2 separate regions of the Homo sapiens genome follow, and region 1 is linked to region 2. Evidence: promoter capture Hi-C in human tissues and cell types (Jung and others, 2019). All regions are on one chromosome and are shown on one strand. The core of a region is centred on a gene start or on the middle of the fragment in contact, and the rest is flanking DNA. Distances in the headings are between cores, read along the strand shown.

What was found. The method cuts DNA at HindIII sites, captures the fragments that hold promoters and counts their contacts. A contact is called where the count stands out against the background at its distance.
Region 1: a contact is called between a fragment that was not itself captured here and the fragment with the promoter of TTC9B in region 2, in 1 of the 25 tissues and cell types used here (bladder).

What each region holds. Positions count from the first base shown.
Region 1 is chr19:40,051,748-40,056,395 of GRCh38, reverse strand. It overlaps ZNF780B (zinc finger protein 780B), which reads left to right and starts at 165. Exons shown (of 5, transcript NM_001005851.3): 1 at 165-207. RefSeq lists an enhancer at 176-305. The HindIII fragment of the contact is 4,300 bases long and covers 943-4,648 here.
Region 2 is chr19:40,216,929-40,221,119 of GRCh38, reverse strand. It overlaps TTC9B (tetratricopeptide repeat domain 9B), which reads left to right and starts at 2,736. Exons shown (of 3, transcript NM_152479.6): 1 at 2,736-3,165; 2 at 3,751-3,933. The coding sequence starts at 2,739. RefSeq lists enhancers at 500-1,699, 3,278-3,868. The HindIII fragment of the contact is 9,592 bases long and covers 1-4,191 here.

The sequences.
Region 1 (4,648 bases), core at 1,843-4,342, 170 kb after region 2:
AACCTCTGCACCCCACGGTCTGGAACTCCCACAAATCCATTAGGCTCGGGTCCCTTAGGAGCCCCCAATGTATGCTGGGATCAACCTGAACAGACCATAGACCAAGACTTCTGAGGTTCTTTCTGCTCAGGACTGTATTTCCCAGAGGCCACCGCACCGGAATTAGCGGTTCCACTTCCTGTCTCCTGGGGTTGACGACCTAGCTGGGTAAGGTCTTCACGTCCTAGGAAGAAATCGGTGGCTGCGGGAGGTCTTCGTGGACTGGGACTCGAACCTGACCGACCCGGCAGTGCGGGTGGGCGAGAGCGAGGCGCTCAGAGGAGGAACCCGGGGCGCAGACGGAATCTGCCAGATCCTTAGGCGTGCGTGTGCGCGGGCATCAAAGGATGGGGATTGCGCGATCTTGAGTGACGGAGGGGACTGTGTGAGTGTGTGCGTGAGGCCCTGTGCACAGGACCGGGACGGCGTGTGGACGCAGTGCGTTTTGCTGGGGCTGTGTGAGTGTCACTGTGCCGGTGGTACTAGGCTCCTGCTGCTTCCTCCGTCTTTCCCCTTCAAAGCTGCAGAGGCTGCAGCAGAGGAATGAAAATGTCCCCAGTAGGGAGGTTAGATATTGAACCGAGAATGAAGCTTTGCACAAGAAGGCGCAGATCTGGACTCGGGGTGGGAATATGAGAGCTGGAAGTGCCTCTTGAGGGTCCCCCAGGAGGGCAGCTACATGTTGAGAACCCAGCGTCCCTCAGAGATCTGTCCCCAGGAACCAGCTTCGAACTCAGACCGATTCCTCCTCCTTTTATTTCCTTCTCATTTCGTACGAAGTGAGGGAAGTTGTGGCCATGGAGGGTGCTTTCAAACTTAGTCTGCGCTCCAAGAAAAGCCTGGAGTCTCACGCTTGCCGTATCCTTCTCCAGTCGTATTATTATCCAAAAGAAGGACCGAGAGGAGGATGAGAGCGTTATTGTTGCACACTTAAGTCAAGGGTGAGTTTGTGCTTTGTATTTGTTCAAGAAATGCGTTTTTGATTTTAGAATATAGAGGTTCCTGTAAATTTTTAGTGAATTTCAGGAGAATATGCAAATTGATTCTTGCCCCCTCCCATTGTGCCGCCTCCCAGCGAGCCGTTCCCCACCCCGCCCGCTCCCCACCTTGCCATTTAATATTCACAGAGCCATTTGGCAAATCGTTCACACCTTCCTGTACGCTCTCTTCTTCTAAGCTGGTATAAAAATAGTCCTCCAGAGGTTTATATTAAAGCTTTATTTTAGACTCTGCTTTGAAAAGAAGATTAGTTTGTGGAATCACACGCCAGGTTTCTGACTCTTTACAGGCCTCCTTTTCCAAGTAGGGAAGAATGGAGATGGTTGGGTGATTTCCATTCGTCTGTGAGGCTTTCAGGAATCGGAAAGTGATTGCACAGAAATTGGTATCAACCAGAGTCAGGATTTTTCGGGAGAGTCCATGAGATGATAATTGTAATACTTGCCAGATCTCTGTGAGATTCGGCAGTTCCGGTTGCATTTTGGGCTATTTGTGTGAACTGTGAGAGGCAGTACGCTGTTGCGGTTAAGAATAGGGGAGTGGATCCAGAGTATCTGGGTTGGAATGTTTGTTCTGTCCGTTTCTGGTCTTCTCAGGCTTGTAATGAACATTAGAATGAATTAATACTCTAAAACCTCTTAGAGCAGTGCTAGGCATATAATAATAAATGTTTAATGTTTTAGCTTTTGTTTTCGTGTGGTCATTTTAGGTCATTTCCCTTGACTTTCTATAGGACAGGAGCATTGGGAATATGTGATTCATTGTGATTGCTGCTTGCATAGTAAGAAAATGAGTGAGTTGCTCAAATGATCTAGGACAGAAGTTCTTTTTAAATTGACAGATAAAATTGTATGTATTTATCGTGTGCAACATGATGTTTTATAGTATATGTACATTGTGGAATGACTAAATCTAGCTAATTAGCAATGCATTACCTCACATAGTTATCATTTTTGTGGTGAGAACACTTAATATCCACTCTCTTAGCACTACAGAATAGTTATTAATAGTAGTTATTAATAGTAGATACGTTGTTGTGTAATAGATTTCTTGAGCTTATTTCTCTTATCTTCCTGAAATTTTATATCCTTTGACCAACATTTCCCCAGCCAACACCATCTTCCCTCCCTCACCCACATTACCCCCGACCTGTAAACACCATTCTCTTCTCTAATTCTATGATATCAAGTGTTTTCTTTTTTTGAGAGAGAGTGTCTTACTCTGTTGCCCAGGCTGGAGTGCAGTGGCGTGATCTCGGTTCACTGCAACCTCTGCCTCCCGGGTTCAAGTAATTCTCCTGCCCCAGCCTTCCGAGTAGCTGGGACTACAGGTGCATGCCACCACACCCAGCTTATTTTTGTATTTTTAGTAGAGACAGGGTTTTGCCATGTTGGCCAGGGTGGTCTCGAACTCTGGACCTTAGGTGATCCGCCTGCCTCGGCCTTCGCCTCCGCTTTCGAAAGTGCTGGGATTACAAGTGTGAGCCACCGCACCTGGCCTATATGAACATTTTTCAGATTCCACTGATGAGTGAGATCATCTGCCTTTCTGTGCTTGGCTTACTTAATATGAATTTCTCCAGGTTCATCCATGTTGTTGCGAATGACAGCATTTCCCTTTTTTTATGGCTAGTTTTCCATTGTGTATATATACCTGCATATATACCACATTTTCTTTATCCATTCATTGATAGACAGTTAGATTGATTCCATATCTTGGCTATTGTGAATAGTGCTGCAATAAACATGGGTGTGCAGGTGTCTCTTTGGTATACAGATTTCATTTCCTTTGGATAAATATCCAGTAGTAGATTGCTGGATCATATGGTGGTTCTATTTCTAATTTTTTGAGGAACCTCCATGCTGTTTTCCATAATGTCTGTGTCACTTTACATTCTCACCAACAGTGTGCAATGGTTCACATTTCTCTACATTCTCACCAACATTTGTTAACTTATGTCTTTTCAATAGCCACCCCAACACATATGAGGTGATATCTTATTGTAGGTTTAATTTTCATTTCCCTGATGATTAGTAATGTTGAGTATTTTTTCATATACTGTAGCCATTTATATGTCGTCTTTTGAGATGTGTTTATCAGGTCCTTTGCCCATTTTTTAATTGGGTTGTTTTCTTGCTGTTGAGTTCCTCACACGTTTTGGATATTAACCCCTTATTAGATACATGACTGCAAATATTTTCTCTCATTCTGTAGGTAGTCTCTTCACTTTGCTGTGCAGAAGCTTTTTTAGCTTGATGTAATTTCATTTGTCTATGTTTGCTTTTATTGCCTGTGCTTTTGAAGTCATTTCTAGAAAAAAAAATTATTGCCCAGATCAATGTCATGAAGCTTTCCCCGTACGTTTTTTTCTATTTGTTTCATAGTTTGGGATCTTACATTTAAATCTTTAATCCATTTAGAGTTGATTTTTGTATAATGGTTTGAGAAAAGGGTCTAATTTCATTCTTCTGTGTATGACTCCCCAGTTTTCACAACAGTATGTATTGAAGAGACTGTCTTTTCCTTATTGTATGTTCTTGGCACCTGTCTCAAAAATCAGTTGGTTGTAAACATATGGATTTATTCTGGGGCTCTCTATTCTGTTCCGTTTGTCTAGGTGTCTGTTTTTATGTCAGTATCATGCTGTTTTGGTTACTATAGCTTTGTAGTATATATTGAAGTCAGGTAGTTTGATGCCTCCAACTTTGTTCTTTTTGCTCCAGACTGCTTTGGCTATTTGGGTCTTTTGTGGTTCTATGCACATTTTAGGATTTTTTTTTTTCTATTTTTGTCAAGAATGTAGGACTGAAATTCTTAATCTGAGTTCTTGTAACTCCACGTATGGTCTTGGGGACCACAAAGCTCTTGAAATAATGTATTGAAGTACTATGGAAATTTATCAATGTGGGTTTTAGAGGGAGAAATAGTATATCATTTCATAAGACTATCAAAACTGTATGTGACCCATGAGGTTTGGATCCATTGATCTAGATAGAACATTGATTCTCAGCGGGGGTGATGTTTAAAAACTTTTGGTTGTCACACCATGGGGGAGGTGCTACTTAGATCTAGTGGATAGAGGTCAGGGATACTGCTGAACATTGTACCGTGCACAGGATAACCCTCCCTATAGCCCCAACAAAGGATTATACAGCACAATATGTCATTAGTGCCTAGGGTGAAAAACCTTAGTCTAGAATCAAAAGATTGTGATACCTGGAATGACACTGTAAATGATCTTATATAAATCAAGTGTCCTGTAATATGGAAATCACTAAGCAAATTATACTAGACTCAAGTGATAAAGTATTATGCAGCTAATAAAATGATGTCTATAAAGAATTATGAAAAGAAAAATATTTGATATACCATTAAGCAGTATTCATGCTATGAACAATGATACTCAAGAAAATGTTACATGTATATGAATCCCATATACTAAGATAGGGTTTTTGTAAGGCATTCTGTAGGAATTGTATCCAAAATGATATTTTAATGAGTTATTTGGTGAAGAAGGGAACCAAGCATGGTGATGTACATTCCACAGATTTTCTCATGTAGTTTCCAGATGCCACTTATCTGCATTGTGTTCATTCAGAGAAGAGTCTTG
Region 2 (4,191 bases), core at 1,487-3,986:
CTATAATCCGAGCTACTCAGGAGGCTGATGCAAGAAAATCGCTTGAACCCGGAAGGTGGATGTTGCCGTGAGCCGAGGTCACGTCATTGCACTCCAGCCCCGGCGACAGTGCAAGACTCCATCTCAAAATAAATAATAAAAAATAAATAAAAGGGAAAGCTCTTTATGACAATGTCTGACACCTAGGAGGTGTTGTAAAAGTGTTAGCATTGCATCCCAGCAGGACTGTGATTTTAGGTACAGTTGTCCTGTGCTACTGTGCCTGGGTACCTAGGCATTTACTTCGTCAGAAAACATGGTTATGAATCAACGGATCTCCTTTTTTTTTTATTTTTTTTTTTGAGACAGGGTCTCACTCTGTCATCATTCAGGTTGGAGTGCAGTGGTGTGATCTCAGCTCACTGCAACTTCCACCTCTTGGGTTCAAGCAATCCTCCCGCCTCAGCCTTCCAAGTGGTGCACGCCACCACCCCTGGCTAATTTTTTGTATTTTTGGTAGAGACAAGGTTTTGCCATGTTGCCCAGGCTGGTCTCGAACTCCTGAATTCAGGTGATCCACTTGCCCCGGCCTTCCAAAGTCCTGGGATTACAGGTGTGAGTCACTGCGCCCAGCCAGATCTCTGTGTTTTTCATTACAAAACAGACACACCGGAGGTAGGGAAAGGTGTGTGCACTGCTCAAGAACTCAAATTCATGAGTTTTACACTCCTAACTGAGCCTGGGTTTGGAGATGCAGAGAGGAAAATGTTTGCACCCCTGAGGTGTTCAAGGCTGGACCCCAGGGATAAGGGAGAAACTCACTCAGCAAAAGCGTTTTACAGCAAAGTACAATAAGAGATAGAGGCAGATGCTCTGGTTGAGATGGAAGGTGCTGAGTTCTGGTTTCTGTCTGTCACATGTGACCTGCCATGGGACCTCCAGCTAGAGGATGTGCTGTGGGGGTGGAGTTGGGGAGAGTGGGGAGGCCTGGGGCTGAGACCCAAGCTAGAGTCTCAGAGGAGGGGGAGGAGTAGTAATGCATAATGCCATTCACTCACACACTCATTCATTCAACAACTATATATGGATGCTGACTCAGAGCCAGGCACTCATGATCACATGACTCAGAGTCTAATGGACGATAAGAAACACCAGTTGTTAATTGCCCATTAATGTATGAAGCCCTGTGCTAAGTGCCTTACCTGCATAAGATAATTCAGTCTCTGCAACCGCTCTGAGGTTAACTTGCCTTCTATCCTCATGTCGCACAGACGAAGCCGAAGGAGGAGGATCGAGGAACTTGGCCCAGGTCCCACAGCTAAGGAGGCGGCAAAGGAGGACTGAAGGGCAGTTGACTCATTCATCCTCGATTTTTTTCTTGAAAGCCTCCTGCATGCTTCCTTTCCTGGGGACTTGTTTGCCCTCTCACTTGTTTTCCCCCATAGACAGCCGAGCTGGATGAGGGCAAGAAGGAGATCTCTCTTGTTTTTAGAGTTATTCCCTCCTCCAGGAAGACTTTATCACCACCTCAGCCCAGGGCAGGTACCTCCCACATCCCAGCCCCGACCCCTCTGCCTGTGCCTCTTCCACCTCGGCCCCGACCCCTCTGCCTGTGCTTCCCAGGCTAGCCTGCTCAGGGCTGTCACTGTCTGGTCACTGGTCTGTCTTCCCACTGAACTGGGGCCCAGTGAGAGTAGGGTCTGAAGCTCACGCAGTGTCTGCTATGTCCCAGCATCATCCAGCACAGAGCTGGGCACAGAAAGGATGTCAGTGAATATTTGTTTCATAAATTAACAGATGAATCCCAAAGGTGGTATTATTTTTAATTCCTTTCCTTTCCTTTTTTCTCTTTCCTCTTTCCCCTTTCCCCTTTCCTTTCCTTTCCTTTCCTTTCCTTTCCTTTCCTTTCCTTTCCTTTCCTTTCCTTTCCTTTCCTTTTTTGAGACGGCATCTCCCTCTGTCACCCAGGCTGGAGTGCAGTGGCACAATCTCGGCTCACTGCAACCTCTGCCTCCCAGGTTCAAGTGATTCTCCTGCCTCAGTCTCCCGAGTAGCTGGGACTACAGGTGCACGCCACCACACCAGGCTAATTTTTGTGTATATATACAAAAATTTTGTATATATTGTATATTAGTAGAGACGGAGTTTTGCCATATTGGCCAGGCTGGTCTCAAACTTCTGACCTCAAGCGATCCATCCACCTCGACCTCCCAAAGTGCTGGGATTACAGGCGTGAGCCACCTCGACTGGCCCTAAAGGTGATATTATTGTGCCATGTTACTGATGAGGATACAGAGTTCCAGGTAGTTTAAGCGAGCTGTCTAAGTCATACCACTAGTGAGAAAGTAAGCAGGGATTTGAATTTGGGAAGCTTGGGTCCAAATCCTGTGTTCTCATTCGATATGCCAAATGGCCAGTGGGCTGAGAGCCAGCTTTCCGTGAGGCTGATGTCTTCCTGCTCTTTCCCCCAGGCTCGTCCTTTCCTTCTAGAAATCTTCGGGAGCTTTGGGCACCGGGGAGGAGAGCAGGCAGGAGGTTGGGGAGGGTAAGGGGAATGGGAACAATTCGGGGGGCGGGCTGGAGAACTAGGACTTGGTTAATTTGAGAGTGAGCATGGGGGAAGTCTCGAGGGGTTTCCCTAGACCCATAGGGGGCAGCCGGAGTCGGCTGCCGGAGGTGAGGGGGCGGAGAAAGGGTGGGGACCAGCCCCGCGGGGGGCGATGCGGTAGCTGCAGCGGCGGCGGCAGGAGTTTCCCACAATGCAGCGCGGCGCGCTGTCCCCGGTGCTGATGCTCAGCGCTGCCCCGGAGCCTCCGCCGCGCCCGCCTCCCGCCCTCTCCCCACCGGGCTCGGGCCCAGGCTCGGGCTCCCGCCATGGCTCGGCTCGTCCCGGTCCTACCCCAGAGCCGTCGGGGAGCCTGGGCGCGGCGCTCGACAGCAGCCTGCGTGCCGCCGTGGCGTTCAAGGCAGAGGGCCAGCGCTGCTATCGAGAGAAGAAGTTCCGGGAGGCCATCGGCAAGTACCACCGAGCGCTGCTGCAGCTGAAGGCGGCGCAGGGGGCCCGCCCTAGCGGCCTGCCCGCCCCCGCCCCCGGGCCCACCAGCAGCCCCGGGCCGGCGCGCCTCAGCGAGGAGCAGCGGCGCCTGGTGGAGAGCACGGAGGTGGAGTGTTACGACTCCCTCACGGGTACGCCGTCGGGGGGTGGGGGGATGGGGCACGAGGGGAGGGGGCAATCGGGAGAGCTTGGCGACTTGGGGGCCAGGGGCCCTGGGGCTGAAGGGTCCAGGGCTGTGGGCTTCTGGGGGAGCCTTCAGAGCTTGATCAAGGAAAGGGATTAGGGGTAGGGGATGACAGGGGTCTGTGGCTGGAGGGAGCTGGGATGCAGGAAATGGTCTTTGGGTCGGGTATTCAGGGCCTCGCTTCCCCTGAGTCATTCTTTCCACCCCCTGGCCGCACGTGGACCCAAGGTGAGGAAGTCTGCCCTGAGCCAGGCTCTCGAGGTCCCGGCCCTCGCCCCCGCGCGGGGCCTTAGTGCTCTTGCCCACCGACAGCTCTGGGTGGATCGCCCAGTGGCGCCTGTCCGTGTTTTGGCGCCCCCTAGCAGCGGCGCAGTTGCGCCTGTTTCGATAGGCGAGCGGATTGGCGCCCCTGGTTGCCGGAGCAATCCCTTAGGCCTGGTTCCCTGCCGCCTGGAGCCTCGGCTCCTCGCAGTCAGGTGGGTTCTGGGGGTGCCAGCAGGCTCTGAGAGTGCCGGCCGCGGGGCCCTCGCAGCTTGCCTGCTGCAGTCGGAGCTGGTAAACTACGAGCGCGTGCGCGAGTACTGTCTCAAGGTACTGGAGAAGCAGCAGGGCAACTTCAAGGCCACCTACCGTGCCGGCATTGCCTTCTACCACCTGGGCGACTACGCACGCGCGCTGCGCTACCTGCAGGAGGCCCGCAGCCGGGAACCCACAGGTGAGTGGCGGGGCGGGGCAGAGGTGAGGGCTGGGCCCAGGGCGGGGAAAGGGGCTGCAGCGGAGGGAACAGGCAGGAAGATCAGGGCAGAATAGCAGAGCCCTCCTCCCGCGGAGCTGCTTCTAGGTAGGGCTGCGCCACCCACCTACTCCCTACACGCCCACTCATCCATTCATCCACCCCGCCCTTCACCCGCCATTCAAACATCCGTCCACCTATCGCTCCTCTGACATCTCCCCGGCCATTTCTCATCTACCG